Regions from separate parts of the Homo sapiens genome. Here all the other regions are linked to region 1. The links are contacts of gene promoters, found by promoter capture Hi-C in blood cells and fetal thymus (Javierre and others, 2016). All regions are on one chromosome and are shown on one strand. Each heading gives the region's core, a stretch centred on a gene start or on the middle of the fragment in contact. The rest is flanking DNA. Distances are from core to core; before and after follow the strand shown.

Region 1 (6,456 bases), core at 1,920-4,419:
AGCCAACATCGCCAGGCAGGCACCGTGCTTATTCCCATCCCACAGGTGAGAAAACAGGCTCAGAGAAGCCAAGCAGCTCCTCTGAGGTCGCACAGCCAGGAGGGTGGCAGCGGGTCTCCTCCAGGGCCTCTCTACTAGGCTGGAGGCTGTCCTCGGTCACCTGCACCATCTGGCCTGACTCTGTCATTAGCTCAGGTGTGAACATCAACTCCCACACCTGTCATTAGGAACCCGGGCAACGGGAGCAACGGGGTTCACACCCTGTCCCGGCCCTCCCCAGCTTCAGCTGCTAAAAGGCAGACAAACTGGAAGGGGTGGCTTTCTCGGTGGGGTGTTCCGTTCACTAATCCACACTTTGTAGTCCAAAGGCCTGACTACCTTGGGTATGAAAGTCACCACTTGGGGCTCCTGGGTCCCCTGGGCTCGGAAAGGGCTGCTACCCTCATCCGGGCACCTCCTGTGTGCTACAGCACTGCTCCTCCCAGCAGCCCTATGCATGAGACACTCAGTATTACCACCCGTGCTGTGCAGAAAGGGAAAACAAGGCTTCGAGAGGCTCCAGGGTGGAGATGCCAGGATCAACAGTGAGGCATTCTGCTCTCAGTGCTGGAGCTCCTACTGCCCCCCATGCTGAATCTCACCAGCAATTTTGTCCTCCCCCAGACAATGGAGCGGGCCCCTGGAAAACTCAGAGTGAAGGAATAACTTGGGGATCCACTCCCTGTGACCAGCGACCACAGCCTAGAGCCGCAAGTCTGTCCCCTCCACCCCCCCACCAAGACACTTGCTATGGGGCTGGCTGGGCATCAGGCAATGTTCAAGAGATGCGTTTGAGAGGATGGGGTACAGGGCTACCCCCACCCCACAATCCAGTCTGCGAACTAGTCCCCACTAAGGGGAGGGGGCAGAGGGATGCACTGGGCTTGGAGACCACCCGGGGAGGCATCTGACATCTGCTCAGGGCTGTGGCTGTGCTCATTCTGTGCTGGGGTGGCAAGGCTCAAAGGAATGGTCTTGCACCCCAGGCTGGGGAGAGAATCAGGAGGGCTTCCTGGAGAAAGAGACGTCTAAATGGAGATCTGGGACCAATGGCTATCAGCCTAGGACAGACCGTGGCTGCCTTGGGCCAGATATACAGAGAGTGGCAGGACCCCAAATCTTTGCCACCCCAGACCCTCCCAGTCCCTGCAGCTATAAAGGATGGGATGCCTTTCATCCTCATGCTTCTGGGAAAGCCCGCACCCCTCCCAGCTTGTCTGGGTTCATTAGAACCTTTTGTTAGGTCCAAGCTGGGGCCTTCAGGATGGAGAGCTGCACGAAGGAGGGAGGCTGGGAGGAGGCAGAGGGCGGGGCGAGGCCTGGCCCCACCACTGGTATGTGGGTGTCTGCATGTGTGAAGGACTGGATGGGTCTAGTCTCTGGGGTGGAGAGGACAGAACGGTTCTCCACGGCTGGCACGGAGCATCCAATTGTGCAATGCCCCAGGGAACAGTGCAGGGACTGGACGGGCCTCTGGTTGGGTCTGAGTGCCAGCTGGACGCAGCCATGGAGGAGGGGTGTGCAGGCCCTGCCCAGTCTCTGGGGTTGTGAAAGATAGGGGAGGGGTGGGGAAATCTCTAAAGGCGGGTAATGCCTCTGAGCTTGAAAGAGCCCAAACGGAGATACGGGTGGGTGGGATCACAGGGCAGGGGGGTTTCTGAAAGGGCTGGAAGGCCCCGGAATGGAGTGTCGCACTCCAGCGTGCTAGGGCCCCGCCGCCTGCACCTGTCCGACTGGTCGGCCTAGGCCGGACTGCAGGGGTTGAGTGGGAGCCCTGGGCCCAGAGGCCTCTCCTTGCCTAGGGAAGAAGTGAGGAGCTGCTTGAGGGCACAGTGGGGGCTCCCAGTGAGAGCAGCTTGGGGGCAGAACTCCCAGACAGGAGAGCCATGTAATGTGCGGGCCCCTCACCTGCCTGAAGCCTCTTGTCCGAGAAGCTGGCAAAATGGTCCTTGCTAGCCCAGAGCCCCCACTCTATTTTCCGAAGTGGGGATATAAGGCAGGGGCTGGATTCCCACCCCCTCCGTCAATCTCAGCATCTCCACCAGGCTCCCCTAAACCGGTTATTAAGTGAACACATTAGGCTTATCAAAAGGGACGTGGGCTGCTTCTCCCTGCAAACACATCAAGACATGCCATTCCCCTCCCAGGCCGCCCTGGGAACCCGCGGCTCAGAGACGCCGCCAGTTTCGGGGCTGGGGTGGGGGCAGGGAGCCACACCCCTGCGAAACCGAGCTTCGAAGAGGAGGCCCCGAAGCCGCCCAACCTCCGCTCAGAACCCAGAGGGTGGGGAGGTAAGGGGGTGCCTCCCCCTGTGCCCCTCGACCCGACCCCACACCCCCCAGGGCCTCCGGGCGCGGCTCTGGCGCGCAGGGTGGCAGGTGCCGGGAAGTGCAGCGGCGGGTGGCCCGCCCCCTCCGGACACCCATCCCTCGCCTCCCCGACGCCAGGAACACTTGCGCGGTCTCAGAGGCGCTGGAGAGCGCCCCCCGACGCCAGCTCAGTTTCCCTGCCTCAGGGCGCCCCCTGGACGGAGCTTCCTGGGTCGCCCGCAGCGACCCCGCCTTGAGTGCCCGGTCCTCCAAAAACTCCGCCCCCTCATCCAGGTGACTATTCCCGGTCCTGTGCGACCCTCTGCGCAAGAGCGACCCTGGGACACGGGGGTGCCCTGTACCCCCAGCTCAGCTGCCCGTGCCCTAGGCCCTCAAGGCAATGCTCCCTGGGCTCCCGGAGTCCCCTGTGTTATGCTCCCCCTCGGGGACCCCAGCCAGTCCCTTCCCACCTGGCGGCGCTTCCCAGCTTCAGGGTGGCCTCGGTCCCGCGTTCCCGAGAGTCCCGCACTCCGGGTTCAGTTCCCGGTTCCTGGACCCCCGTACCCCCCATTCCTACACTGCCCGGGAGGTCTTCCAGGTCCTGTGCGCCCACAGGGGCAAGAGCGTCCCGGAGCGGAGCTGTGGGCGCCTCCTCACCTCCGGGTCTGCACAGTGGGGCTGTATTTGCCTTTGTTTCTCTTCCTGAAGAGCGAGTTCATGGTGGCGCTCGGGGTGCGGGCGGCGGCGGCTGGCGGGCCGGGCGCGCACCGAGGGGCGGGCGGGAGCGCAGGTGAGCGAGCGGCGGCGCGGGGAGCCCGGACTGCGGCGCGGCAGTGGCTCCGGGTCCCTACTCGCTGGGGGCGGGGCGCCCGCCGGCCACTGGCTCTGCGGGCCGCTCCCCGAGAAGGTGGTGCTTACCTTCCCGAGGAGGGGCCACCGCGCGGGCGGGGCTTGGACGCGGGGGTGGGGACACTGGGTCTTGGCCGGACGCCGCCCACCCCCAGCCGGGGGACTCCGGAGGCCGGGCAGGCACTGGGGCGCAAAGGCCGCCGGGGCGAGCGCTCGCAGCCCCACCCTCCTCGGGCCCGGCGCGCCTCTGGCCGAGGCCTTCACCTGGTTCTGCGCTACCGCGGAACTCGGCGCTCCTGGTGCTTTGGCGGACACCCAGCTGGGCCCCGCAAGACAGGTGCGGCAGAGACCCGCACGGATTCATGTGCCCTAGTAGCTAGCGAATTGCACTCAGATGGTGGCAATTGAGGGAAGGGGGCTGAACTGCCGAGGGCGCCGGCCTGAGTTCAAGCCCTGCCACCCCCAGGTTGGCTGACACTCCTGGGCAAGGTGTTTTACTGCTCCCAGCCACAGTTTACTTCTTTGTCAAACGGTGATAACCACCACCCCATCCGAAAGGCCTGTGGGGATGTCCCTGCAGGTAATGCACGCAAAGCGCTGAGCGCAGTGCCCTGGCCTGAATCTGCTCTCCGCTTGCCATCTCGGGTGGACAAAAACTCCTTTGAAACTTCAATAACTCCAGGCCCTGGCACTAGAAGAGCGCTTCATAGCTGGTCATAAAAGCTGCTCGATTGCGGCTCAGAACAACGACGTTGCACAATTCTGCCAGCATGTCCTGGCCCAGACTGTGTGCCAGTGGAGGAGGCTGCCCTTAGACAGAAACCTAATCTGACCTGAAGCCCGGATGGCACACACCACCACACCTGGCTAATTTTTAAAAATTTTTGTAGAGGCAGAGTTTCACCATGTTGCCCAGGCTGGTCTTGAACTCCTGTGCTCAAGTGATCTGCCGGCCTACAGCCTCCCAAAGTGCTGGGATTACAGATATTAGCCACCGTGCCCAGCCAACCTTATTCTTAATGGGGCTTCTATGGGTGGGCTTAACCCATTTATGCCTGAGGTTGCAATTTTTTGAATTGATAAATCATACCTTGGCAGTGACCTTGAGCAGTAGGAGATAACTCCCACAGGCGTCACGTTCCAATAATGGACCACTAGGCGTAAATAGAGGTGTGATTCCTCCTAAAGTTGTGCCTGCCTGCCTGCCTTCCTTCTTTCCTTCCTCTCTCTTTCCTTTCTTGCTTTCTTGCTTTCTTTCTTCTTTCTTCTTTGAGACTCAGTTGCCCAGGCTGGAGTGCATTGGCACAATCATAGCTCACTGCAGCCTTGACTTTTGGGGCTCAAGCAATCCTCCCACCTCAGCTTCCCGAGTAGCTGGATCCACAGGTGTCCACCACCACGCCTGGCTAATTTTTAAAACCTTTATATTTATATATGTTTTTTGTAGAGATGGGGTCTCGCTGTGTTGCCCAAGCTGGTCTTGAATTCCTGGGCTCAAGCAGTCCTCCCACCTTGGCCTCCCAAAGTGCTGGGATTTCAGGTGTGAGCCACTGCACCCAGCCCTAAAGTTGCTTTCAAAATGTGTGTGTCCAAATGTGCATTTTTCTGGGGGAGGATGTATTGCTCAGTGGAGTCATTTACTCATTCAACACATGTTTCCCATCACTCTCACAGCCTCAGTGTGCCTGGCTCTGCTTGTTGTACACGGATGAGAAAAGGGAAAAGAACAACACAAAAGGGGCTTTCTCTTTGGGAGCTTTCAGGTCCCGGGGCAGGGGACACATATTAAAAATGTTAACTTGGATGGGCGCGGTGGCTCACTCCTGTAATCCCAGTACTTTGAGAGGTCGAGGCAGGGGGATCACCTGAGGTCAGGAGTTCAAGACCAGCCTGACCAACATGGTGAAACCCCGTCTCTCCTAAAAATAAAAAATTAGCTGGGCGTGGTGGCGCCTGCCTGTAGTCCCAGCTACTTGGGAAGCTGAGGCAGGAGAATCTCTTGAAACTGGGAAGGGGAGGTTGCAGTGAGCTCATATCACGCCACTGCACTCCAGCCTGGGAGGTCACAGTGAGCTGAGATCGTGCCACTGCACTCCAGCCTGGGCGACAGAGTGAGACTTCGTCAAAAAACAAAAACAAAAACAAAAACACGTTAACTTTTCTTTTTCTTTCTTTTTTTTTGGAGATAGGGTCTTGCTGTGTTGCTCCGGCTGGAGTGCAGTGGCGTGATCATGGCTCACTGCAGCCTTCCTTGACCTCCCAGACGGAAGCCGTTGTCTCTTCTCAGCCTCCCTCTCAAGTAGCTGGGACCACAGGTGTGCACCACCATGCCTGGCTAATTTTTTTTAAATTAATTAATTATTATTTTTTTTTTGACAGTCTGGCTCTTGTCGCCCAGGCTGGAGTGCAATGACACACTCTCGGCTCACTGCAACCTCTGCCTCCTGGATTCAAGCAACTCTCCTGCTGCCACCACGCCCTGCTAATTTTTGTATTTTTAGTAGAGACAGAGTTTTGCCATGTTGGCCAAGCTGGTCTTGAACTCCTGACCTTGTGATCTGCCTGCCTCAGCCTCCCAAAGTGCTGGGATTACAGCTGTGAGCCACTGTGCCTGGCCTTTTTAAATTTTTTTAATTAATTAATTAATTATTTAATTTTTTTTGAGACAGAGTCTTGCTCTGTCGCCCAGGATGGAGTGCAGTGGCATGATCTCGGCTCACTGCAAGCTCCGCTTCCTGGGTTCATGCCATTATCCTGCCTCAGCCTCCCAAGTAGCTGGGACTACAGGCGCCCGCCACAACGCCTGGCTAATTTTTTGTATTTTTTAGGAGAGACGGGGTTTCACCATGTTAGCCAGGATGGTCTTGATCTCCTGAACTTGTGATCCACCCACCTCGGCCTCCCAAAGTGCTAGGATTACAGGCGTGAGCCACCACGCCCGGCCTTTAATTTATTTTTTTTAGAAGGAGTCTCACTCTACCACCGGGCTGGAGTGCAGTGGTGCAATCTCGGCTCACTGCAACCTCCGACTCCCTGGTTCAAGGGATTCTCCTGCCTCAGCCTCCCGAGTAGCTGAGATCACAGGCACGTGCCACCATGGCCAACTAAATTTTGTATTTTTAGTAGAGACGGCTCAAACTCTTGACCTCAGATGACCTGCCTGCCTTGGTCTCCCAAAGTTCTGGGATTACAGGTGTGAGTCACTGCACCCGGCCGCCTGGCTAATTTTTAAAATTCTTTGTAGAGATGGGCTCTTACT
Region 2 (6,456 bases), core at 2,639-5,138, 490 kb before region 1:
GGATGTGTTTGCACACAGGGCCACTTAATAAATGTTATGGCTGCCTTATTTGCTGTGAACTCTTGTCTGTATTCCTGGGCCTTGGTAGACCTGGGATGCCCAGTGGCTCTGCCTTTCACTGTAGGTTTTGAGTGATGAGGTGAAGAGGAAGCAGTACGATGCCTACGGCTCTGCAGGCTTCGATCCTGGGGCCAGCGGCTCCCAGCATAGCTACTGGAAGGGAGGCCCCACTGTGGACCCCGAGGAGCTGTTCAGGAAGATCTTTGGCGAGTTCTCATCCTCTTCATTTGGAGATTTCCAGACCGTGTTTGATCAGCCTCAGGAAGTAAGTTCCTCACTTGGAAGAATTATTCAAATTTTAGACTAAGTATGGGTCAAACAAATTTTTTTATCAGTTTCTGTTTCTCAGAAAGGCAAGGCAGCTTAAATGGAGTGATCTGGAGGCAGCCATTTTAGTAGAAAATAATTTCAGTATTTGAAAAATCGCATAGGTAGTAATGAGTATGTCCATTCTGATGGTATTCTTAACAGTTGCATAATGAGGTAGCACCTAAGGCTTTCAGAGCCCATGAGGGTGTGAGTGTTGTCTCTCATCTGCTACAGTATTCCAGGAGAGTTCTGTCCGGTGGGAAGGCACTGCTGATCCTCTCTCATTTATGTCCTTATAAGACACTGTCAGAGTGGAAGAGAGAGGGGATATATTTATGATCTAAATTATGATTGTGGATCATTCAGGCTGTTTTTAAGTGCCATGTACGAGTATTTATCTGTGAACATTTTCAGTCTGTTGAAAGTACGTTTTCATTTAAGTCATACATTATCTCTTAAAAATCCCAAAGAGTAGGGCAGAATTCGTTCAGTGAGTCCTACCTATGCTTACTTGGCAGAGTGCAAGTAAGTACAGTGGTGAAAGAGTGACTGAAAATGTGGGCCAGTACCCTCCTTTCCCTTTAGAGCCGAGCGTCAGTTTTGGTCGTTGCAAACAAAAGTTGACAGGCTGTCCCTTGGTTTCTTTAGTACTTCATGGAGTTGACATTCAATCAAGCTGCAAAGGGGGTCAACAAGGAGTTCACCGTGAACATCATGGACACGTGTGAGCGCTGCAACGGCAAGGGGAACGAGCCCGGCACCAAGGTGCAGCATTGCCACTACTGTGGCGGCTCCGGCATGGTAAGGCTCTGCCCGAGACTCCACCTCCCACGGCTTGCACCACTGACTGAGAAGAGCTGGTTGTGGCACTGCTCCCAGAGAACGTATGCTGGGAATTGGGGGAGTTGGTGAACTCAGCCTGGCTGTCTTTCCCCCGTGACCCTGAGGAGACGAGCCTGTGCTCCTCTTTCCCTGATACCACAGGCTCAGCAACCAGAGCACAGCAGCTCCGGGGGCGGGGCGGGGGATTGCATCCAGTTGTCACTTTCTTCTTTATTTTTCTAACAATTGCTTTGGTAATTCAAGGGGAAATAATCTTTTTTAAATGTACTGTTCAGCTCCCAGGAGTCTTCAGGTACTTCTGTAGACAGGCGGTATCATATTTTTCAGTGTCGTGTGGTCAAGTTGATGATCTGGAGTGCAGAAGTTTGTGTGTTCTAGAAAATCAGATGAACAGATTGAGGCCCTGCACCTGGGTTCCTAGGCAGTGTGTTTGAGTGCACATGCACATAAAAAACAAGCCTTAAAGAGACATTTTTCTTACGCACATTGTGGTCCCAGAACCACCCATCAGTTTACCTGCGTACTTAGGTTACCATTTTTCTTGTTTTTATCAGGAAACCATCAACACAGGCCCTTTTGTGATGCGTTCCACGTGTAGGAGATGTGGTGGCCGCGGCTCCATCATCATATCGCCCTGTGTGGTCTGCAGGGGAGCAGGACAAGCCAAGCAGAAAAAGCGAGTGATGATCCCTGTGCCTGCAGGTGGGTGCTTGGGCCCGCCATGTCCAGGAGCTTGGAGAGGGCAGACAGGGTTGAGGCTACCACACCGTGTGGAGAGGGTGGACAGGGCCGAGGCCACTGCACTGAGTGTGAGTGGGCTCTTGGTAGAAGTTATGGTTGAGGCCCTGGAGCCCCAGGCTGGAGGAGGAACTGGAGTCTCCTTGAATCTTTCTGTTTCTGCCAGTTATCCTTAAAATTTACACTTTGCATGTCACAATGGGGAGAAGAGACCTGACGTGCCTACTCTGCTTCTTCCTGGTGAGGGAGCAGCTTCCAACCCCCGGGCTCCTCTCCTCTCTCCCCTGTCTTAGTCACCGAAGCCATCATTGTCCCTGCTGCCACCCTATCTACATCAGCCCCACGGATCCCACCCCTCACTCCATGTCTACTGTTCCCTTGCCCAAAACTCACTTTCTGCTTTCTTTTTTCGGTTAACTTTATTCATCTTGGAGATCCCAGCTTGAGTATCCCTTCCCTAGCTAGCCTCACACCCTCCTCCCTGTTCTTTTTTTTTTCTTTTTTGAGACGGAGTCTCGCTCTGTCACCCAGGCTGGAGCGCAGTGGCCCGATCTCGGCCCACTGCAAGCTCTGCCTCCCAGGCTCATGCCATTCTCCTGCCTCAGCCTCCCAAGGAGCTGGGACTACAGGCACCTGCCACCACACCCAGCTAATTTTTTGTATTTTTAGTAGAGACGGGGTTTCATCGTGTTAGCCAGGATGGTCTCGATCTCCTGACCTCGTGATCCACCCGCCTCGGCTTCCCAAAGTGCTGAGATTATAGTCATGAGCCACCGCGCGTGGCCTGCTTTACTGTTGTTTAGATGTCTGTTTCTCTAGAGTTGTGAGCATTTCCATTGAAGAGCATGTCTCTGTTTGTAGTTATGCATTAGTGCTATCGTTTGGTTAACACCCATCACCCCAGTGAGACCATGAACTCCCTGAGGTACTGCCTAGACCAAGCCTGAGGCAGGTGCTCAGTCATCAGGTGTCTGTGTTGCATCTCTGGAAGGTTACCCATGTGCCTCTTAGATAATGACATTGTTCCTCGTTAATAAGAAACAGGAGTGGGGAAGAAGCTGTGGGTTACAAGTGGATCTTGGGTGGAAAGTGCTGTGGGAGGTCTCACAATAACTGCTCCCTTTCTTTTTTTTCTTTTTCTTTTCTTTTTTTTTTTTTTTTTAAGACGGAGTCTCGCTCTGTTGCCAGGCTGGCGTGTAGTGGAGTGATCTCGGCTCACTGCAACCTCCGCCTCCTGGGTTCAAGCGATTCTCTTTCCTCAGCCTCCTGAGTAGCTGGGACTACAGGCGTGTGCCACCACGCCCAGTTAATTTTTAGTAGAGACCAGGTTTCACCATGTTGGCCAGGATGGTCTCGATCTCTTGACGTCATGATCTGCCCGCCTCGGCCTCCCAAAGTGCTGGGATTACAGGCGTGAGCCACCGCGTCCTGCCTAACTTCTCCCTTTCTAATGTCCCTTGTAGGAGTCGAGGATGGCCAGACCGTGAGGATGCCTGTGGGAAAAAGGGAAATTTTCATTACGTTCAGGGTAGGTGCCCTGCCCCGCACAGCTTCTGTTGGGCCTTTCCTCTCTTCGGGTGGGTGTGGCTGAGGCTGCTCCCATGTAATCAAAGCTTCACAGGAACATGTCTCGCCATTCATGTTTCTGAGGGGCACAGTGGCCACCTAGATGTGGTTTTTAGCTGTTTGTTACCTTCAAGATTCTGTGCCTTGTGTGGAGAGAAGACAACTTCTTCAACATGCTAACAAGTTAGAAATACAGGTCACATAAAAATACAGGAAACATCTTGTGTTTTTATGATAAGATTGTTGATGAGGCAGTGAGTGTGAAAGTTACAATTTTACATACTGTATACAGGGGCAAACCTTGGTTTTCTGAGATGGTGGAAACATTAATGAAGACAATGCCTTCTACTGGCAATTGCCCTCCTATGTGTACACCTGAGAAAAACCCACACAAGCCTAGCAGGCGATAGGTACAAAGGGGTGCACAAGAGTCCTGTCCATGGTAGCAAGACACTGCCTTCCTCCAACAAGAGAATGGCTCAGTGAGCCGTGGTGGTCAGAGGCTGCTGCAGGGCAGTCGGAAGGAAAGAATGAGAGCTGAACTCAAGGGATGCTCCAGGCGTTGCAGGTACAGACAGCAGGGATGGAAGGCAGCTTGCCAGTGGCTGTAGGGCCTCAGAGACCATCTGTGTAAAGTTTTAAAACCTGTGAGATGGCATTATGTATTATTTAGGGACACGGAAATACATAGTAAGTAGAAGCTTGTAGGAATGATAAATGTTAAAGTCAGGGTTGTGGTTAGCTGAGGAGGGCAAGACTCACCGGTGTTTATGATGTTTTATTTTATTTTACTTTATTTTTTGAGGTGGGGTATTGCTTTGTTGCCTAGGATGAAATGCAGTGGGGCAGTCTTGGCTCACTGTAGCCTCAGACTCCCTGGGCTCAGGTGATCCTCCCACCTCAGCCTCCTGAGTAGCTGGGACTACAGGCACACGCCACCAGGCCCGGCTGACTTTTGTATCTTTAGTAAAGATGAGGTTTCACCATGTTGCCCAGGGTGGTCTCAAACCCCAGGGCTCAAATGATCCACCCACCTTGGCCTCCCAAAGTGCTGGGATTACAGGTATGAGCCACTGCGCCCGGCCTGTGATATTTTGTTACCTCCACTGGGTTGTGGGTATGACATGCTTGTTATATTATTTACTCTTCCCTTTTTTTTCTTTTTTTTTTCTGGAAAGAGAGTCTTGCTCTGTTGCCCAGTCTGGAGTGCAGTGGCATGATCTCAGCTCACTGCAACCTCCACCTCCCAGGTTCAAGCGATTCTCTTGCCTCAGCCTCCTGAGTAGCTGGGACTACAGGCATGCGCCACTACACCCAGGTAATTTTTGTATTTTTAGTAGAGATGGGGTTTCACCATGTTGGCAGGCTGGTCTCGAATTCCTGACCTCAGGTGATCCACCCACCTTAGCCTTCCAAAGTGCTGGGATTACAAGCGTGAGCCACCACGGCTGGCCTATACTTTCTAATAAAGTAAGATTTTTTTTTTTTTTTTTTTGAGGTGGAGTCTCGCTCTGTTGCTCAGGCTGGAGTGCAGTGGTGTGATCTCTGTTCAGTGCAAACTTCATCTCCCAGGTTCAAGTGGATCTTCTGCCTCAGCCTCCTGAGTAGCTGGGATTACAGGGGCCCGCCACCACACCTGGTTAATTTTTGTATTTTTAGTAGAGACAAGGTTTCACCATGTTGGTCAGTCTGGTCTCAAACTCCTGACCTCAGGTGATCCACTCACCTTGGCCTCCCAAAGTGCTGGGATTACAGGTGTGTGCCACTGTGCCTGGCTAAAGTAAGATTAAAAAAAAAAAATCAAAAGCCAGTTTTACATTTTTGTTTCCCTTCACGATTGAATGGCTTGATCTGAGACTGAGGAAATCCAGGCACGCTTCCATTTCGGCATTTCAAGTGTGTAGAACATTGCAGTGTTGAAATATGTAGAACATGTCATTCCTGGGCCTGGGATGGTGTCTCCTTGTTGGAAGGACAGTTCTTTCCCTCAACACTGCACTTTATGTATGGAAGGGGTGTGTAGTTTGTCAGGTCTGAGCTTGGGCCTGGCCAGGCATGCAGCTGGTGTTTAGTCTGCAGTGGACTTATCTTCACATGCATCTGTCATGTTTGGCCTTAGGTGCAGAAAAGCCCTGTGTTCCGGAGGGACGGCGCAGACATCCACTCCGACCTCTTTATTTCTATAGCTCAGGCTCTTCTTGGGGGTACAGCCAGAGCCCAGGGCCTGTACGAGACGATCAACGTGACGGTAAGAGGGTGTGAGAACACCTTTGTCACCCCTGTACTTTATTGCTCTTTTTCTGAAATGGAAAAGAACTGACCAGTGGCCTGGAACCCATGAGTGACCAGCATGTGGGGGGGCACTCACAGGGGAGGACATGAGGAATTTTAGGCTGCTCCTTGAGTGTGGACCACAAGCCACAGGCCTTGAGTCTATAATCGCATGGGAAGCAGTTCCTGGCTGGCATCACTCCCACACTGGTTAGCGGGGCCTGGGAACTGGGCGCATTCAGGACACAGAAGGGTTCACCCTGGGTTGTGCTCTCTGCACTTGCTTCTGTCCAGTGTCTGGCTCCAAGAGCAGAAGACTCGGGCGGTGCATATCCCTTTTGCCACAGTGATGGCTGCCTGTGTGCTGCCAGCACCTGTCCCCCACCTCTCTCTTGACCTGCCCCTCCAGCTCTTCCCACCTCCAGGCCACATCATTCTCTGTATTCGCCTCAGAACCTTCTCCAGCTTCTTTGTGGGGAACCTTGGGGTAACCTCCATGAAGGAGGTGGGCATTTTGGGCCAAGGCTTTCTCCTCCATCTGGGGGCTATTCCCTGGCTTCTCCAGGGTCCTGTGGTTCCAAGGGCCAGGGAGCGACCTCAGCCACGCACCCTGTATTGGCTTTTCCTGCTTTGCTCCCTCACTCCTGCTTCCTGGGCTCACTTGCCCAA
Region 3 (6,456 bases), core at 1,092-3,591, 410 kb before region 1:
CATGGCAAGACGTCATCAATATTAAAAAAAAAAAAAAAAAAAAAAGGCGGGGGGGCCCGCTCTGCATCAGCTTAATTCAAACCCAGACCCCCAAGACCCACCACTTTCCAGCTGAGCGAGCTGAGCCTCGGTTTCTTCCTCTGTAAACAGAGATGATCATGCCTACCTCTCAGGGTGGGAGTGAGGTTGAAGAGAGACTGTGTGTGAAACGCCTGCAGCAGAAACGCTGGGCCTAGCACACAATGACGCTAAATAAATGGAAACTGCTATTATTATGCTTTATTAGGCAACTTCCAACAGGGAGGAAAACAACAGGTATTGACGCCTCTGCCATGGAGTGCCTTCTGATTCCCAACGAGGGGTCCTGGTGCATGTTCACTAATATGACTACAAGGGGATGCCTCTACCGGATTCTGGAGGGACTTGCAATCAAAACCCTCCCTAAGAACTCAGCTCAGCAGCGTTCCCTCACAGCACAGCTCAGCTGGGCCACCTGCTCCACGGTAACCCGAGACAACTCTTTGAGAAGGCAGAGACACTAGCAGTCCTCCAAGGGCCATCTCTCCTGGTGGGCTGTGGAAATGCCAGGGGCCTGCCTGGGAGTGCCCAAGGTTGGCAATGCCCCTGGAAGGATGCTCCACCAATACACCCTGGTGGCAGGGGCTCTGCAGCAGCTGCTGCCCAGACACATTTCTCAGAGCTGGGCTGGCTTGGTGCTGCATCCCCAGGAGGTGCTTACCCACGTGGCAGCCATGGCGTCAGGACGCCAGCTGGCCTCAGAGGGGCTCCTCTGTCCCCAGGAGGCAGGTCCCAGGCATCCAGCCAGGAACAGGGCTTTCTGCTTTGCTGGGAAAACTGAAAGGCCGATTTCTGCCTTGCCTGCAGCTTCCATGTGCTGAATAAAGGAGGTGCCCACTGCTCCATGAGGGGCAGAGCCGAGGTAAAAGACAAACACTCTCTGTGCTTCTTGGGTCTGAAAAGAGAATGGCAAGGCCCAAACCAGGTCTGGAGGAAAAGGCCAAAGCAAGAAGTGAGCCAGAAGCAAGCAGGAGCTCACGTGGGCCTCAGGGAAGATGCTCTCAGTCCAGATAGCAGCACCCTGCAGGGACAGGGCAGCGGGAAAAGGAGAGCACAGAATCCCCACCAAGGGTGCAGGCCTGAAGGGGACCCTTCCAGGGAGGCTTGGCCCACACTAGGCCTTTCCATCCTGTGACATCTCCATCCAACACACAGACGGATTAGTTCAAACCCACCTTGGAGGGCGGTGTGAGAATTAAGTAAGGCATGGATATAAAAACTTACTGAACCACTGTAACGGGCCATGCAGCGTGAGGGTCATTAGGAGGGGGACTGTTACTTGCAAGGGATGGCCGCTGACCACGTAGCTGTTCCGCCTATTCTCCCAAGCACCCCAGGGCTGGGCTGAAGCACAGTCTGTGAGGTGACCACGTAACAGAGGCCCTCTAAGGGGAGGGCGGGGGATGGTGCTTCCTTCTGATAGTTACTCAGCACATCCTCCGTGCCAGATACAGGCTGGGGATTAAAGACACGTCCCTGGCTGGGCGCAGTGGCTCACGCCTGTAATCCCAGCACTTTGGGAGGCTGAGGAGGGCGGATTACGAGGTCCAGAGATCGAGACCATCCTGGCCAACACGGTGAAACCCCGTCTCTACTAAAAATACAAAGATTAGCTGGGCGTGGTGGCACGTGCCTGTAATCCCAGCTACTTAGGAGGCTGAGGTAGGAGAATCACTTGAACCCAGGAGGCGGAGGTTGTAGTGAGCCAAGATCGCGCCACTGCACTCTAACCTGGCGACAGAGCGGGACTCCATCTCAAAGAAAGAAAAAAAAAGACATGTCCCTGCCTTCCAGAAGCTTACGGTCAAGTGAAGAGGATGAGCGTTAAATAATCACCCCCCTCGCCAAAAAACCACAAACACAATTACATCTGTGACCAGTGGTATCGAGAAAGTCCAGGGCACAGTAGAAGGACAGCAAGATCGCCGTTCTGGAGCTCTAACACCATCTCTTCAAGCAAACCTGGGAGGAGGTGGCGGAAGAGTTAATGAGACCAGCAGGCAAAGGGAGGGATGGGGACAGCAGAGGGAACAGTGAGTACACAAGGCCTAAGGAAGGAGGGATGTGCCCCTGAGGGTGGCCAGATGGCAGCCTGGGGCCCTCACAGCGACCCAGCCACAGGGTTTGTTCCAGAGCTCAAATACCTCAGATCTCCAGGACAAGGATGACAAGGCCAGCTGGACAGTGTCCCAGGCCCTTCTCCTCAGGCTTTAGGCTTCCCCAGGAGACCTCCGGCACCATTCAGCCTTGTTGCATTGTGGCACTTGGAAACAAAGACAGCGGTCTTCTTTGCTTGACTGTCAATAGAATATTGGGAGAGCACAGGTCTCCCTGGGACCCTGCCTCGCCGCTGATGGCCTGCAGCCCTAGACAAATTCCTCAACCTCTCTGAGCCTCAGTTTCCCCACGTGCAAAATGAGGTTCTTGGAAGGCTGAACAAAATCCCACATGTAGATGTCCAGGCTGTATTGCTGGAGACGCCTTCCATGAATTACTACGCAGATACCACCACCCATACAGAGCTGTGCTGTGCTCCTCCACATCACACTGCAAAGGAAGAAGGCAGAATAACAAGATCTCAAACAGCAATGTTCCGCCTAATGAAGTACAGACTGGAGATTGCCAGCTGCACCCAAATCCACTCTCTCCCCCATTCTTGAATACAGAACTCCACTTTCACTCAGGGCAAGTCCATCAACCAAGAGGGTCCCCGAGCTTTCTTAGAGTGACAAAGCTTTGGCTAATGAGCTGTAAGCAGAAGTGTCCAGACCATAAGAAGGCATTCAGGGCAAGCCGACTCAGCCCGGAGCCAGGCCCTTCATCTTTCCTGCCTTCCTCCCATCTACCACCTGGAAGATAGATGCCATGGCTCCAGTAGCTGTGCTTCACCATGAGGGCCTTGGGATGGAGGCCAGTGCCTAGGACAGCCATGGGACACCACACCAGCAACTAACTGACCACCTCCCACATCTTCCACATGAGTAATAAAACTTGGTTTACTGGTTAATTATTGGTAAATTATTTTCAGGTTAAGTATTAACAAGTGTCATTACAAATATACAGCACAGACAGGTGCAGTGGCTCACACCTGTAATTCCAGCACTTTGGATGCCAAGGTGGGAGGACTGCTTAAAGCTAGGAGTTCAAGACCAGCCTGGGCAACATAACAAGATCCCATCTCTACAAAAAAATAAAATTAGCCAGGTATGGTGATAGACACCTGTGGTCCCAGCTACTTGGGAGGCTGAGGCGGGAGGATTGTTCTAGCCCAGGGATTCTAGGCTACAAAGAGCTATGTCACGCCAATGCACTCTAGCCTGGGCAACAGAGTGAGACTCTATCCCCCCTCCACCACAAAAATATATCTCTACAGTTCCTTAGGTCTGAAGGAACACAAGTTCTCTTCAAGTGATCCATGATCAAAAGGATCATGGCTTTCTTTAGGTCACATGACACAGCCTCAGCCAGTACAGAGGCCAAGGCATGGGGAATACTCCCTGGCGGGAAGGCTGGAGCAGATGCTTCCGTAGTTAAAACAGGCCCCGAGAGAAGTGCAGCTGGTTGCCTTGGAGCGAGGACACATTCTTCTGCAACTCCAGTGCTCATTTCAGCATGAGCACTGGCTCAAGGAGGAGCTGAGGAGGACGATGGCGTGCAGTGAACGTTAATAGAGCATGCACTGTTTGGATGCAGGTGCCCAGCACAGGGACATGAAGGAAGTGCTCCAAGTGAGGAGGTGCTCAAAAGGGAGCCCCTGCTGTGAGACTGCTCCTGGGCCCCAAACCCTCTCCACTCCCCTCTCCACCATGCCCTATCCAAACCTGGGGCTAATCCAGCCACCCAAGTCCATGTGGGACCAGGCCAGGATTCCCTGTGGCCTTTCGCAGCTGACCAGAGGGACCCTATTCCCAACGCTGGGTGATGAGCAGGAAAGAGGAGGCCCTCCACAAAGGTCCACTCAGTTGCAGAGCAGCCTCTAGTGAGGCTGAGCCCTCCCAAGACTCAGGGAGGTTGCCAATGTGTCCCCTTCTCTGGGACCGTTGTCCTCGGCTGCCAAGTTCTAGCACAGGCAGGCCTGGAAAATCCTGAACATGGCCCATTTCCCATTGTCCTGATGGAGGCAGGACGAGACAGTCCCTCCCTCAGATAACATCGCGGGTGGCTCTGAACCATTTATTTATTTTTACACTTGAAGATGGGTGTATCTGATGCCTTGGGAATTCTAAACACTTCAAAACAAGCTCAACTTAAGTCACAGAAAGGACCAGAAAACAGATCTGGTTTTCCCATCTGCCAGCTCTCCTCCCACCCAACCCTACATGCTCCTCCTCGACCATGATGAGTCTCAGCGGAAATAAGACACCAGCCTAGCCAGGCACGGTGGCTCATGCCTGTAATTACGGCACTTTGGGAGGCAGAGGTGGGCGGATCACGAGGGCAGAAGTTCAAGACCAGGCTGGCCAACATGGTGAAACTCTGTTTGTACAAAAAATACAAAAATTAGCTGGGCATGATGGCATCCGCCTGTAATCCCAGCTACTCGGGAGGCTGAGGCAGGAGAATTACTTGAACCCAGGAGGCGGAGGTTGCAGTGAGCCGAGATCACACCGTCGCACTCCAGCCCGGGCAATAGTCTGAGAATCTGTCTCAAAATATAAAAAATAGCTGGTCACGGTGGCTCACACCTGTAATCCCAGCACTTTGGGAGGCCAAGGCAGGCGGATCACAGATCAGGAGATTGAGGCCATCCTGGCTAACATGGTGAAAACCTGTCTCTACTAAAAATACAAAAAAATTAGCCAGGCATGATGGCGGGCGCCTGCAGTCCCATCTACTCAGGAGGCTGAGGCAGGAGAATGGTGCAAACCCGGGAGGCGGAGCTTGCAGTGAGCTGAGATCGCGCCACTACACTCCAGCCTGGGCAACAGAGTGAGACTCCATCTCAAAAAAAAAAAGATAAATAAAAATAAAATAAAAAATAAAATAAAAATAAAATTAAAAATAAAATAAAAAAGACATCAGCCCAACCCCATGGCCCCAAACACCACTGCGCCCTCCAACAGAAGCATGAGCCCTGTGTCGCAGGCAGAGCTGCAGGGGCAGAATCTTGCACCGAGTGGGGCACAGGCATCAGGCCCCACGCCCACCACCCTGCCCTGCCACCTGACTCTCCAGTCTCAGATTTTTTTTCATCTGTGATATGGCGGTAGGAGCAGCCCCTTATCAAGAATTGTGATGAGTCACGGGAGAGGCCATGGGTGAAGAGCACACCACTGAAGGCCTGCCACAGGAGCCTGAGAGAGGAAGTACACGAGAAAAAAGAAGACACTGTTACTTTTTTTTTTTTTTTTAGACGGAGTCTCGCACTGTCGCCCAGGCTGGAGTGCAGTGGCGGGATCTTGGCTCACTGCAAGCTCCGCCTCCTGGGTTCACACCATTCTCCTGCCTCAGCCTCCCGAGTAGCTGGGACTACAGGCGCCCGCCAACACGCCTGGGTAATTTTTTGTATTTTTAGTAGAGACGGGGTTTCACCGTGTTAGCCAGGGTGGTCTTGATCTCATGATCTCGTGATCCACCTGCCTCGGCCTCCCAAAGTGCTGCGATTACAGGCAAGTGCCACCGCACCCGGTGACACTGTTGCTCTTAAGCAGAAGCAAAATCAAAAGGCAGACAGGACTCAAAGAATGGTTCTAAACCTAAAAGTACTAAGGCCTCTAGGAACTATGATGATGACAATTACTGTGCAATTTATATCATGCTGAATTTTAGTAAAACCTCCTGGCAAACCACTCTCACTTGGTGACACTCCGTCCACAGCACGGGGCCACAGCATAGTGGATCAGTACAACTTTCCTGGACAGCCTTGCTACCTGTACACTCTTATGGACTCAATTCCACTTCAATGTATTCGTTCTAGAGGTAAATGGACATGTGAACACAGATTCACAGGCAAAGATGTTTATATGCACCACTGTCTTGATGTTCAAGAAAATGGAACTGGTTACATGCATGTGATTAGCTATATAATGTAACTGTATTCAGCCCCTAAAAAATGATATAGTTTTGTTTTTGTTTTTTGAGATGGAGTCTCGCTCTTGTTGCCCAGGCTGGAATGCAATGGTGCAGTCTAGGCTCACTGCGACCTCCGCCTCCCGGGTTCAAGTAATTCTTCTGCCTCAGCCTCCTGAATAACAAGGATTACACGCACCCGCCACTAAGCCTGGCTAATTTTTGTATTTTAGTAGAGATGGGGTTTCACCATGTTGGCCAGGCTGGTGTCGAACTCTTGACCTCAGGTGATTTTGCCCACCTTGGCCTCTCAAAGTGCTGGAATTACAAGCATGAGCCACCATGCCTGGCCAATGATATAGATTTTTA
Region 4 (6,456 bases), core at 1,770-4,269, 300 kb before region 1:
CCAGGGCTCAGCACTGGCGCCACTGCTCACATAACTGAAGCTTTCTTCTAACAGGGCTCTCGCCCCGCGGAACAGATGCTCTCTGTGATGTCTCTGAGAGCCCAGACTCCCAGGGAGCCTTCTGGGGAATCGAAAGAAAGAAAAGATTGCTTCAGTGCTTTGGGGAAAAAGTGTGTGTGTACATATACTGCACATAGACATTAAAAATCAGAGGCTGGGGGCTGGCTGCAGGGGCTCACGCCTGTAATCCCAGCACTTTGGGAGGCTGAGGCAGGCGGATCACTTGAGGTCAGGAGTTTGAGGCCAGCCTGGCCAACATGGCAAAACCCTATCTCTACTAAAAATCCAAAAAAAAAAATAGCCAAGTGTGGTGGTGCACACCTGTAATCCCAGCTGCTCAGGTGGCTGAGGTGGGAGAATCTCTTGAAACCAGGAGGTGGAGTTCACAGTGAGCCAAGATTGCGCCACTGCACTCCACCCTGGGTGACAGAGTGAGACCCTGTCTCTAAATAAATTAATAAGTCAAATAAAAAATAATAAATTGAGGCTAACATATTCTTTTTTTTTTCTTTTTTTCGAGACAGAGTCTTGCTCTGTCGCCCAGGCTGGAGTGTAGTGGCATGATCTTAGCTCACTGCAACCTCTGCCTCCTGGGTTCGAGCAATCCTCCTTCAGCCTCTGGAGTAGCTGGGATTACAGGTGTGGGCCACCACACCCAGCTAACTTTTTTTTCTTTTTTTTTGAGACAGAGTCTCGCACTGTCATCCAGGCTGGTGTGCAGTGGCGCAATATTGGCTCACTGCAACCTCCACCTCCCAGGTTTAAGCGACTCTCCCGCCAAAGCCTCCCGAGTAGCTGGGATTACAGGTGCCCACTACCACGCCCAGCTAATTTTTTTTTTTTTTTTTTTGTATATTTAGTGGAGATGTGGTTTCACCATGTTGGCCAGGCTGGTCTTGAACTCCTGACCTTGTGATCTGCCTGCCTCAGCCTCCAGAAGTGCTGGGATTACAGATGTGACTACCGTGCCCGGCCTCAGCTAACTTTTGTATTTTCTGTTTTTTTTTTTTAAGTAGAGACAGGGTTTCACCATGTTGGTCAGGCTGGTCTTGAACTCTTGACCTCAGGTGATCCACCTGCCTCGGCCTCTGCAAGTGCTGGGATTACAGGCATGAGCCACTGGGCCTGGCCAAGGCTAGCATACATTTAGGAAATGTACAGCTCATTAATGTGCAGTTTGATAAATGATCACAAAATGAACATGTTGAGAAAAATAGAGCAGTACCGGCCCCCAGAGGCCCCCTATTGTCCCCTTCTGAACAACCTGCCTCCCCCTTCTTCCCTGGGAACCACCCCCCTGACTTCCTCCCTGGGTGACTTCTGCTTGGGTTTGAGCTTGAAAGAACTGGAAGGAGGCGCTCTTCTTGCTCCACCTCAGGATGAGATGGGATGCAATGGCCGGGCGGGGTTTGTGAGCAGTGAGTGATCTGGCGTCTGCTGTGGGACCTTCCAGCGTCCCAGTGCTGCCCGTGGACGGGCTCCGGGGGAGCTGGGGACATCCTTGTGTCTGGCGGTGGTGCCCTTGAGCCTGATCTCTTTGGGTGCGTTTTTATGCCTGGAGTGGACTTGTTGGGGCTGTTGGGTGCATTCAGCCTTCGTAGATTTTAAACTTTTAGGAGTGAACGAATTTGCATGTCTGCAGGCAAGAACAAGGGTGTTGGTCGCTCTGCATTCATACTGGCACTAGGTAGGGTGAGGGGTGTGTGCTATTTTTAATTTTTTTTCAATTCCACCTTGAATTTCTCATTGTACTTTTCCCTGATGACCAGTGAGGTTGAGCGCCTTTCTCTATGCGAATTGGCCATCTGTTTCTTGTCCTGCTGTTGAAGTGCCTTGTGAAGTCTTTTACACATTAAAACAATTGAGTGGCCAGGCTCAGTGGCTCACACCTGTAATCCCAGCACTTTGGGAGGCCGAGACGGGCAGATCACAAGGTCAGGAGATCGAGACCATCCTGGCTAACATGGTAAAACCCCGTCTCTACTAAAAATACAAACAATTAGCAGGGCACGGTGGCGTGCGCCTGTAGTCCCAGCTACTTGGGAGGCTGAGGCAGGAGAATGGCGTGAACCTGGGAGGTGGAGCTTGCAGTGAGTCAAGATTGCGCCACTGCACGCCAGCCCGGGCGACAGAGCAAGACTCCATCTCAAAAAAAAAAAAAAAAAAAAAAATTGAGTGGCCAGGTTCAGTGGCTCACACCTGTAATTCTAGCACTTTGGGAGGCTGAGGCGGGCAGATCACCTCAGGTCAGGAGTTGAAGACCAGCCCGGCCAACATGGTGAAACCCCGTCTCTACTAAAAATTCAAAAATTAGCTGGGCATGGTGTTGGGTGCCTGTAATCCTAGCTCCTGGGGAGGCTGAGGCAGGAGAATCGCTTGAACCTGGGAGATGGAGGTTACAGTGAGCCAAGATCGCGCCATTGCACTCCAGCCTGAGCGACAGAGTGAGACTGTCTCAAAGAAAAAAACAAAAAAAAAATTGAGTTATCTTTTTTTCTTACTGGTTTATAGGAGCTCTTTCCTAAGTGCTTTTTATTATGGTTTTAATTCTTTGGAAATTGGCCGCCTTAGTGCCGTTTATGGAAGCTAGCCCAGGCAAGAAATGGAGTGTATTGAAGGCTCCGAGGGAAGTCCCAGTAACCTCAGGGGAAACGGACAAGTGGAAGCTGCGGGAACCCAGAGCCTCTGTTCGGCTCCAGCCTCAGCGCCATCCTGCAGTCCTGCAGAGCGCCCCAGCTGCTCCGGCGTGTGTGAGGCCATCGCCACCCACCAGGCTGGTCAAGGGCCAAGTGCTGCCGTCGTCCCTGGTCCCATTCCACAGGAGGGAGAATTCGGATGGCCCAGTGTGCCAGTGTCCACCTTAGGGCCAACCAGCCCTGTCTAGGGGGTGGGGGCCACCCTGAGGGTGGTGGAGGCTGTTTCCAGAAAAGGGGAGGACACACCCCCAACAAAAAAGGTGACTACAGCTTATGCCCCCTCCGTGCCCCAGCGTCTTTGCTTAGTCAGAGTTGTTCTCAGCTTTGTGTTCCGCACTGGAAGCCAGAGCCCTGTATTTAATATGGTATCACGTTTACATATGGGAGGTCCGAAAGGGACTTCTAGCCAGTGTGTTCACACCTGCCGGAGGCTCCTTTGTGTTAATTGGCATTTTTTATCCTCAGGACGTCCTGAGTTTAGGGTGGCCCTCTCATCTCAAGTTTGCAGTTAAAGAAATCAAGGTTGGGTGTGGTGGCTCCCTGTAATCCCAGCACTTTGGGAGGCCGAGGCGGGTGGATTACGAGGTCAGGAGTTTGAGACCAGCCTGACCAACATGGTGAAACTCCGTCTCTACTAAAAATACAGAAAATTGCTGGGCGTGGTGGCGGGTGCCTGTAATCTCAGCTATTTGGAAGGCTGAGGCAGGAGAATCACCTGAACCCGGGAGGCAGAGGTTGCAGTGAGCCGTGATCGTACCACTGCACTCCAGCCTGGGTGACAGAGCGAGAGTCCGTCTCAAAAAAAAAAATAAATAAATATCTCAGCCCATGTTGACTTCCCCAGCTGGGTGGGGGACTGGTAGTAGGCAGGGAAGCATGGTAGGCCCAGGGGGATCAATGCGTGGGTGATACAGCTGGGTGGGACCCCCAGAGCACTCGAAGGCTGTGGGGCTGCCACCCCCTCTGGCCTCCCACCTGGTGGGGGCATCCTGGGACCTGATCTTGTGCAGGTCTGGCCCACCTGGGGTTTATTGGCAATGCAGCAGCTGATTTTGTGAGACTGGTAAGCAGGAACACCTGTCCTGTTAGAACACGAGGAGAATTTTCAGCAGGTGGAATCAGTGAGCTGTTCGGAGCCCCTGCAGACACCTCGTGGCCTTCCCACTCCCCCTTCCTCGGGTGGGAACGATGGCTGAGGCAGCCCAGTGAAGTCCACCCCTGGTGTCCCGGGTCCCTGGGCCGCTGTGTTTCTTAGGAGGCAGACATGCTGGGTGTCTTCATTCACATCCTGGCTTACTTCCCATGGCTGACAGTGCAGGCTCTGGAGTCTGCCCAGGGGTCCCAGTGAGAATGTCTCTCACTGGTTGTGTGACCTGAGCAGGTCACTCAGCCTCACCGGGCCAGTTTCCCTGACTGTCAAACACCAGTAACAACAGCATCTGCTTTCATTCATTAGGTGAGTGTTCATCCAGCTCTTAGGCATGGAGCGGGGAGGTCATGAGGATGCGGGGCCGTGGACAGTTGAGGATGATGCCTACTTTTGGGCTGGGGAGGACAGAGGGAACCAACAGGTACACGAGATAAAGCAGCAGTGACACTATGAGGAGAATGGCGGCGGGAGCGTTGACCACGAGCTGGCAGTTGGCCTGCGTGGTGGTCCAGGCTGGCCTCACCGCGGCATCCCAAGGAGGGAATAGCCCAGGCCGGGAAGGTGGGGCGGGGTGGGCAGGGCATGTGGAATCACTGGTCTGCAGAGCGGGGAGCTTGGCCATGGCCTTCAGGTCAGGGTGCAGCAACCTTCACCATTGGGCATCATTAGGCTGGGGGCATCTGGAAGGTCAGGAGGAAGCCTGGGCTACCTAGGATGGAACAGGCAGGACAGTTGTCTCCAAGGCCTGCCTATGACTTGGGCATCCTGTCCCCAGATGCACAGCGTCTGCCCCCTCGGTGCGGGAGGATGAGGAACGCCTGCCTGTGGATCCACACATGGTCCCCGTATTGGGGGTGTGGAGGAAAGGCCTTTCTGACATGATCTGAGCCCGGCCTCTTTCTCTTAGGGGTGTACCAGGGTTGGTGGGTTTGGAGGCAAATGCATTTCAAGGGTCCAGATCACGAACCTCTGACCCGGTGGGCCCTGAACTCTGGTCTGATAAACATGGGTCAGACTTCTCCCTGAAAACTGTGAGCGTGGAGTTCAGGCACAGGCAGGCGGGGCAGGTGCTTTCAGGCTTGATAGCAAGACCCTACTTTACTCATCTGCCCTCCACGCTCCGCGGCTCCGACGGTGTTTGCTGCGGCTCCTCTGCTGCGTTGAGTCCGTCTGTGCACTCAGATGGCCTGTGCTTCGCCTTTCGCCCGCGTTCTTGGGAGGCCTTGCCGCGTCCCGGGCCTCCCGCCCTTCCAAGGTTGGCTTGTTTCAGTGATTCGGAATGTCCCTGTTTTCCTCTCGCAGATGTCTGGTGGCGTTCATTGCACACTGTGTACCACAAGATATTGACAAGGTGCAAGAGACACAAGACGGGCCCAGAAGGCTTCTTGGCTCACTCTGTGGCCTGTATGGAAGGGACAGGGCTGTCCCCCTCCCCTGGCCATCCCCAAGACAGCCTCTGACCTGTGGCCTTGTGGTTTTGGTTTTTCTCAGCTGTAGAGATGACAAACGTATGTATCCTCCTGCCTGGAGGCATGTGTGGAGAGCATTGAGGCTGTTCGGGGAATGCCTCGAGGCCTCCCACGGAAGGGATTTTGCAGTTTTCATTTCTGTGGCTGTTGTCTCCCTGTGCAGGTTGCCCGGACACCTGCAAGCCACCCAGAGTCCGAATCCCTCGGGCAGGGAGGCAGTGAACTGCTGGGCTCCAGTCCCCCTGGGGGTGACAGTAAACCAGGGGAGAAGGATGCCTTTGTTTTAGTGGTGTTCGAGGACTGCCCTGAGGCCCTGGGTCCTTGAGTGTGTTGGTTCCACATAGCCGGGATTTCCAGGACAACCTTGGGACCCTGTGGCGTCTGTCGGGCTCTGTGAGCCCACAGGAGGATTTTCAGCCATTCTGCTGGGGAAGCCCCTTGGGTGTGGTTTTTTGTGTGTGAACAGTGCCCATTGTCACTGGCGATGACACCACTGACTCCTGTCCCCGTGGTCCCCCGGCTGCAGGAGGGGAGGTGCCCAGCACAGAGACTGAGAAACAAGTGGGCTCTGGAGTCGGGGTGTGCGCCCCAGCTCCACCGCTGATGAGCTTGGGGGCCTTAGCCAAGCTTCGTTTCCTGTATGTTTGAAAGTGTGGGCCTTGTCTGCCCCTCTTTCCTTGGGGCCAGCGGGAAAGGGGGTGAAGGCGCTGACCTCAGCAGGTGTGGAGGGAGAGCCTGGTGGGTGTGGTTCCACCTGCGTTCTTTCACCTCCACAGCTGCCTTCCCACTTCCCACTCACAGTCTCCTTTTCTTTTTCCTCCACCCCCTTGGCAGCGCTGCCTGCTCCTCTTGGTCCTGAGCTGGTGCACATACAAATGTACACAGCTCATGCACGCACACACCACATGTGTGTCATTCTTCTTGAGGCAAAGGAAAGGGCGGCCCCGCCCCTAACACTTCCCCAGGCCTGGTCCCTTCCTCCTGCCCCATCAGGGACCTAGGGTCTCCTTCCCGTGTTTCTTCTCCATGTGTGGATACCCATGTGTGAGCAATAGGATTTTTTTTTTGTTTTTTGGAGACA

Evidence for each region. Contacts are between HindIII fragments. The CHiCAGO score rates a contact against its expected background, and 5 or more counts as called.
Region 2: a fragment that was not itself captured here is called in contact with the fragment with the promoter of PPL in region 1 in 1 of 17 cell types (neutrophils); the score reaches 5.1 in neutrophils.
Region 3: a fragment that was not itself captured here is called in contact with the fragment with the promoter of PPL in region 1 in 3 of 17 cell types (M1 macrophages, neutrophils and M2 macrophages); the score reaches 5.3 in M1 macrophages.
Region 4: a fragment that was not itself captured here is called in contact with the fragment with the promoter of PPL in region 1 in 1 of 17 cell types (erythroblasts); the score reaches 5.2 in erythroblasts.

The regions. Positions count from the first base shown.
Region 1 is chr16:4,933,979-4,940,434 of GRCh38, forward strand. It overlaps PPL (periplakin), which reads right to left and starts at 3,170. Exons shown (of 22, transcript NM_002705.5): 1 at 3,006-3,170. The coding sequence starts at 3,067. RefSeq lists a silencer at 3,113-3,512. The HindIII fragment of the contact is 7,029 bases long and covers 1-6,456 here.
Region 2 is chr16:4,441,251-4,447,706 of GRCh38, forward strand. DNAJA3 (DnaJ heat shock protein family (Hsp40) member A3) reads left to right here. Exons shown (of 12, transcript NM_005147.6): 4 at 125-325; 5 at 1,018-1,170; 6 at 1,767-1,914; 7 at 3,414-3,478; 8 at 5,636-5,764. Among named protein-coding and RNA genes, the nearest start is that of DNAJA3, 19 kb to the left of the region's middle. The HindIII fragment of the contact is 654 bases long and covers 3,562-4,215 here.
Region 3 is chr16:4,521,678-4,528,133 of GRCh38, forward strand. All of the region lies in intron 1 of CDIP1 (cell death inducing p53 target 1), which reads right to left. Among named protein-coding and RNA genes, the nearest start is that of CDIP1, 14 kb to the right of the region's middle. RefSeq lists an enhancer at 231-1,095. The HindIII fragment of the contact is 937 bases long and covers 1,874-2,810 here.
Region 4 is chr16:4,634,911-4,641,366 of GRCh38, forward strand. The region is part of intron 1 of MGRN1 (mahogunin ring finger 1); the gene reads left to right. Among named protein-coding and RNA genes, the nearest start is that of MGRN1, 13 kb to the left of the region's middle. RefSeq lists an enhancer at 2,363-3,327. The HindIII fragment of the contact is 5,962 bases long and covers 39-6,000 here.